Linked DNA regions of Homo sapiens: region 1 is linked to region 2. Evidence: promoter capture Hi-C in human tissues and cell types (Jung and others, 2019). All regions are on one chromosome and are shown on one strand. The core of a region is centred on a gene start or on the middle of the fragment in contact, and the rest is flanking DNA. Distances in the headings are between cores, read along the strand shown. Region 1 has its middle 18 kb from the start of H6PD. Region 2 holds the start of SLC2A7 (solute carrier family 2 member 7).

Region 1 (3,359 bases), core at 83-2,582, 190 kb before region 2:
GAGACCATTCTGGCTAACATGGTGAAACCCCGTCTCTACTAAAAATACAAAAAATTAGCCGGGCGTGGTGGCGGGTGCCTGTAGTCCCAGCTACTCGGGAGGCCGAGGCAAGAGAATGGCGTGAACCCGGGAGGCGGGGCTTGCAGTGAGCCGAGATCGTGCCACTGAACTCCAGCCTGGGTGACAGAGTGAGACTCCGTCTCAAAAAAAAAAAAAAAAAGGAAAGACGAGTCACAGTTGGGGCCACATCCCATAAATGAGAAGCTACGTGCCACTTGGCTGGTGCAGTGTCGTTTAACCCAGGATCCTGTCTGGCTCTCCCTCGTCCTGGGATTAGGAGGAGCCCAGCCACCAGCCGGCCATCCTTCTGCATTTGTATGGGAAGGGTTAGACACACGGAGGTTTTAATCACTGTAGCTGACACCTATCAGAGCTGGGACGGCAGCCAAGTCCACATGGTGAAAACAGGAGCCTCTTCAAGGGCCCAGGTCTCGTCTCCATTTCTGTATCCCTCTCAACGGCTCAACAACGCCTGTCCCATCTTCAATTTATTGTAAAGGGTAATTACGTGTCAGCTTAAGTCAGACACTTGGCCTTCATCACAAGTCCAGTATAGGAGAAGGTTAAGAACATTTAAGCCGTGCCCGTCTGTGGCTCACACCTATAATCCCAGCACTTTGGGAGGCTGAGGCAGGTGGATCGCTTGAGCCCAGGAGTTCGAGACCAGCCTGGGCAACATGGTGAAACCCTACAAAAAATACAAAAATTAGCCAGGTGTGGTGGCGCATGCCTATAGTCCCAGCTACTCAAGAGGCTAAGGTGAGAGGATCATTGAGCCCAGGAAGTTGAGGCTACAGTGAGCTGAGATTGTGCCACTGCACAGAGCAAGACCCTGTCTCAAAAACAAAACAAAACAAAACACTTAAAAGGCATACGGCCAGGTGCAGTAGCTCACGCCTGTAATCCCAGCACTTTGGGAGGCCGAGGCAGGTGGATCACCTGAGGTCAGGAGTTTGAGACCAGCCTGGCCAACGTGGTGAAATCCCATCTCTGCCAAAAATACAGAAATTAGTCAGGTGTGGTGGCACTCAGAAGTCTGAGGCAGGAGAATCACTTGAACCTGGGAGGTGGAGGTTGCAGTCAGCCCAGATGGCGCCATTGCGCTCCAGCCTGGGCGACAGAGAGAGACTCTGTCTCAAAAAAATAATAATAATAAATAAAATAAAAATAAAAGGCATATGAAAAATTCAAATGTGTGCCGAGGTCTGTTCCCAGAACCCATGCAATTGGGTAGCATGCCAGTGATGTTCTCCTAACTCTTCTAGAATTAAGCACCCCACAGATGAGGCCCCAAAGGGATGCATCTGTACTAAGTTCCAGGACACGGGGTAATGTTAGTGTGAGGTTCCCAGGTACCTGAAACCCACATCACAAATAGAACATTAATGAGTGCTACAATTAGAACTGGCTCCACACACACAGGTATTTAGAAGTGAGACAGGAAGTGTAAATGGAGCCCTAATTAATGGATGTGCTAATTGTGCTTCCCTGAAATTGGGAGATTAACCCTGGCATATTTTTAAAGCTTTTTTGTGTAACTGGTACATTGAACAAGTGGGACTCATTGGGTGTAGAAAACACTTAATCTTCCCCCCACTGCCTGGTTCAAACCTGTTCAAATGCTCTTATTCATGCCTTGCATGAGATCTAAGGCAGGCCCTTGACTCTGCTGGCCCCTCTCTCCAATCAGGATCTACAATGTGCAGTCCCAGGCCAGGCACGGTGGCTCACGCCTGTAATCCCAGCAGTTTGGGAGGCCAAGGTGAGCGGATCACCTGAGGTCAGGAATTCGAGACCAGCCTGGCAAACATGGTGAAACCCTGTGTCTACTAAAAATACAAAAATTAGCCAGGCGTGGTAGCACGCACCTGTGATCCCAGCTACTTGGGAGGCTGAGGCATGAGAATCGCTTGAACCCAGAGGTGGAGGTTGCAATGAGCCGAGATCACACCATTGTACCCCAACCTGGGTGACAGAGCAAGACTCCATCTCAAATAAATACATAAATAAAATAAAATAACATGTGCAGTGCCATGTAAGTGTCAACCCCCCCAAATGACAGCTTCTCCCCACCCCCAGCTCCTGGTGGGGAGGCGGCTGGGCGTGGGATACTGTTTTCCCTGTGGGGCATCCCTTTGCTGGCTAGCTGCACTTTCTGGCGGTTTCCTAGGCTTACAGTGGAGAAGGAAGAAGACACAGGGAGAGAACAGGCGCAGTGTAACTGGACGGGTAGGTCACAGGCTGGCTTCGCTATCCCCTGGGTTTGATAGGAATTTAAACTTGTTGCATGGGAGCTCTTTTGGGGTTTTTTTGTTTGTTTGTTTGTTTGAGATGAAGTCTTGCTCTGTCGCCCAGGCTGGAGTGCAGTGGTGCGATCTCCGCTCACTGCAACCTCCACCTCCCGGGTTCAAGCAATTCTCCTGCCTTAGCCCCCACTAGTAGCTGGGATTACCGGTGCGCACCACCACCACCACGCCCAGCTAATTTTTCTATTTTTAGTAGAGACGGAGTTTTGCCATGTTGACCAGGCTGGTCTCAAACTCCTGACCTCAGGTGATCCACCCGCCTCGGCCTCCCAAAGTGCTAGGATTACAGGCGTGTCCACCGTGCCCGGCCTCTTTCTATTTTTTTAATTGAGATAGAGTTTCACCCTGTCGCCCAGGCTGGAGTGCAATGGCGTGATCACTGCAACCTCGGCCTCCCAGGTTCAAGCAATTCTCCTGCCTCAGACTCCGGAGTAGCTGGGATTACAGGCACGCACTACCACGCCTGGCTAATTTTTGTATTTTTAGTAGAGACAGGGTTTCACCACCTTGGCCAGGCTGGTCTGGAACTCCTGGCCTCAAGTGATCTGCCCGCTTCGGCCTCCTGAAGTATTGGGATTACAGGCGTGAGCCACCGCAACCAGCCCTCAGGGTCTTTCAAGATTCCTTTAACACAAGGATCTCACAACTGCTGTTCTTTTGATTCCAGTGAAAACCATCTCCTGGGGCTGGTCTTTTATTTGTAATTCCACCTCCAGCTCCTGGAGATGAGGTGTTAGAGTACAGAACTCTTCCTCTAAATTCTCCTTTCGCTCCAGGTGGTCTGGGTGGGAGGATCTCAGGCTCTCCCAGCCCCGCACCTGGTCCACAAAATCTCCTACCTTGGACGGGCTGTTGGGGAAGGAATGTGACCACCCAGCTGCGTTAGCCAGGCGCCTCCTCTCCACCTTCAGGTCTTTCGTGTGGGAGGTGCACGCTGGCCATTTTGTTCTGGGCCCAGGGACATGTGCCTTCTCTCCATGGGGACCCTTAGTC
Region 2 (3,533 bases), core at 328-2,827:
GCTGGTCTTGAACTCCTGAGCTCAAGCAATCCTCCACCCACTCAGCCTCTCATTGTGCTGTGCTTATAGGCATGAACCACCGCACCCTGGCCTTCCCCAGGTATACTATGTGTATTCTGCTTTGATCACTTCTCTTAAAGGTCATGTTAATTAAAAAACATGTTAATGTTTCCATGTTCCCACATTTCATAATTATCCTTTGAAACAGAAGTCTGGCATTCCAATCAATTAGTTACTCCTAATTTATTCAATCATTCTCTACTTTAAAAAAAAAATGCTAGTAGAAATGATTCTGAAATAAGCACCTTTGTCCAATATTTTATTGACTTATTTAACACTATTTAGTGTAATTAGAAATAATAACTGTGTTTTTCTGAAAGTGTTTAATTTGTTCTTTCCCCCAAATGGACAATTAGTCCAAATGCACAAGAGGAGGCATATATGAAGAACCTAGGAACACACAGAAAGGAACAGCAAACACTGGGATCTACTTCCGGCTGGAGGGTGGGAGGAGGGAGAGGAGCAGCAAACAAACACTGGGAAGTGGGCTTAATACCTGGGTGATGAAATAATCTGTACAACAAACCCCCGTGGCACGAGTTTACCTATGTAACAAACCTTCACATATACCCTGAACCTAAAATAAAAGTTAAAAAAAAAAAAAAAGCCAGGTGCGGTGGCTCATGCCTGTAAGCCCAGCACTTTGGGAGGCCAAGGCAGGCGGATCACTAGAGGTCAGGAGTTCTAGACCAGCCTGGCCAACATGGTGAAACCTCATCTCTACTAAAAACACACAAAAAAAGGCTGGGTACGGTGGCTCACGCCTGTAATCCCAGCACTTTGGGAGGCCGAGGCGGGCAGATCATGAAGTCAGGAGATCCAGGCCATCCTGGCTAACACGGTGAAACCCCGTCTCTACTAAAAATACAAAAAAAAAATTAGCCAGGCATGGTGGCAGGCACCTGTGGTCCCAGCTACTCAGGAGGCTGAGACAGGAGAATGGCGTGAACCCGGGAGGCAGAGCTTGCAGTGAGCTGAGATTGCGCCACCGCACTCCAGCCTGGGCGACAAAGCGAGACTCCACCTCAAAAAAAAAAAAAAAAAAAAAAAAAAGCTGGGTGTGGCGGCACGTGCCTATAATCCCGGCTACTTGGGAAGCTAAGGCAGGAGAATAGCTTGAGCCCAGGAAGCCGAGGTTGCAGTGAGCTGAGATTGCGCCACTGCACTCCAGCCTGGGCAACAAAGGAAGACCCTGTCTCAAAAAAAAAAGAGGCATACATGGAAAAATGACACAGAAAAAGCATCCTAGATCCAGGTCACAGCCTCACTGGGTCTCTGAAAGTCCTCATTTCTGCGGACCAATGTCAGGCAATGTTTTTTCTCTCTCCTTGGTGCAACTAGGGAGCTTTCGGCTTGGGGCTTGGTGGGTGCAAAGACGAAATTCGTGCTGTGTATGATTTGTGCACTGGCAACGTGTGTCTTATCAACATTTCCAAGGAGAATTTGCTCCTGGGGAAAGTCAGCAGGGTCCAGAGAGCAAAAGGATCATAAAGCCAGGTAGGCCCAGGGGAGAAACAGCCGGTCTTTAGGTGGCTGGCGCAGAGCAGGTGTCACTTGGGAGGTAGAGCACACCTGTTCTCCCACCTGAACAAGGATGGAGAACAAAGAGGCGGGAACCCCTCCACCCATTCCATCCAGGGAGGGGGTAAGTGCCAAGACTAGGAACCTGTCACTGTCCCTCTCCCACCAGCTGTGCAGACCTGTGGAGGGAGGTGAAGGCCGTGGAATGCTTTTAGCAAGGAGCGGGTAGCGTGCTTCCTTTTTCTTCAGGATAACCAGGCCTGGGAGAGCCATGTGGAGAAGCAGCTATGCTCAAACCTCATGGCTCAGACATGGGCCAGGGTGGCTGAGCGAATGCTGGGAGAGCGGATGGTGCTGGAGATGCCTCTCTCCCTTCCACCCCTGCTCCCCTCCGCTTCCCCTACCCTTAAAGATCGAGGGGAGATGGCCTCTGAAGAATGCCCGAATCCTGCCCTTCTGTCTGGTTGTTCCTGGATGTGCAGAGCTACGGGCTGTGGGCAGCCAGGCAGCTAAGTGTGAGGGTTGGGGTGAGGACATGTGGAACAGGAGTGAGGGGTGGAGGGGGCAGTGGGGAGGGGGCATGCACCAGGGCCTTGGCTCTAGGACATGGTCAGAGACCCTGCCCACCTGCTCCTCAGACTTTGGCCCTCAGGCCAGTTCCCCTCCAAGCTGCCCTGGGTGTTGTGGCAACCATGGAAAGCCTGGCCCTGAGCACAGGCGACTGCCGGGATTTTCCTAAGGGCCTGTTCTAGAGGCAGAGGCAAGCAATGAGTCCCTCTGTCTGGGATGCTCTTCCCCCCGATGCTTACACAGCTGCTCCCTCTCATCCATTCTGGTCCCGGCTCAAAGGGCGCCTGCTCAGAGAGGCCTTCCCTGCCCTGCCCACCCTACTGAACACAGTCTCTCATTCCTCACAGGCTGCTACCCCACCCATCACCCTATTTTATTGTCCTCACAGCATTCTAGCTATTTGGAATTATCATCTTTGTCTTTCTTGGACGGGGTGGGCTCCCCTCACTAGAAAGTGAGCTTCTTAAAGGCAGTGCTTTGCTGGGCCTTTTTCCTAAAGCATCCCCTACTTCACACTTGGCCTCCAGGGCCTAGTACAGGGCCAGGCACGTAGCAGATGCTCAGATACATCCTCAAGGAGGGAATGAATGCGTGCAGAGACCTCAGCCCCCAAAAGCCCCAGCCCTGCGCCACCTCCTCCTCTTTTCCGGGGGCACGGCCTGGGATCCCCCATCCCCCACTTCCAGCCCAGGCTGGAGGGAGGTGGAGGCCCAGCCACTCCACTTCCCGAGGCCCAAGCCCACAGCGTCCCGACCTTGGACTTGTCTCCTACAGCGGCTCCAGCCGACGCTGTTGCTGGCGACACTGAGCGCGGCCTTTGGCTCAGCCTTCCAGTACGGCTACAACCTCTCTGTGGTCAACACGCCGCACAAGGTGGGCACAAGGTGGGCACAAGGTGGGCCGGGCAGCAGCTGACCGGGGTCGTGGGTGGAAGGTAGCCGCCATCTTCCTCCGTGGAGGCTGCCATCTTGCCTGTAGGAGGCACCATCTTGCCTTTGGGAGCAGCCAGCTTGCCCTAGTACCCTGGATGCTCACCCCTGGAGACCAGGGCGTGGCAGGAGGTGTTTCCCCCTGGAGTGTCGTCCTTTCCGGGCACATTGGGATGCTGGGGGACCTGTTCCATTTTCCAGCCCAGTCTTTTTGGGCCTCAGGTCCCACTGCTCTCACCTTGGGTAGGCCCCTTGTTGATTGGAAAGAGAATGGGGTCAAAGATTGAACTCTGTGGCATTTAGGGATTGGGGCAAAGGGGAAAAAAGGAAAAAGAGAAGGGGCCCTTGCAGGTGTGGAAGACCCTGAGGGCAGAATGTCCCCAAAACCTAGTAAAGGATGAGAGTCAAGGAGGGAGGGACAGCCTGTGCTGATGAGCTCAGATGAGGACTGAG

Evidence for each region. Contacts are between HindIII fragments. The study calls those that stand out against the background at their distance.
Region 1: a fragment that was not itself captured here is called in contact with the fragment with the promoter of SLC2A7 in region 2 in 1 of the 25 tissues and cell types used here (spleen).

Annotation. Positions count from the first base shown.
Region 1 is chr1:9,215,246-9,218,604 of GRCh38, reverse strand. No RefSeq gene overlaps it. Among named protein-coding and RNA genes, the nearest start is that of H6PD, 18 kb to the left of the region's middle. RefSeq lists an enhancer at 2,171-2,698. The HindIII fragment of the contact is 4,427 bases long and covers 1-3,359 here.
Region 2 is chr1:9,024,467-9,027,999 of GRCh38, reverse strand. SLC2A7 (solute carrier family 2 member 7) reads left to right here and starts at 1,577. Exons shown (of 12, transcript NM_207420.3): 1 at 1,577-1,705; 2 at 2,926-3,024. The coding sequence starts at 1,655. The HindIII fragment of the contact is 20,163 bases long and covers 1-3,533 here.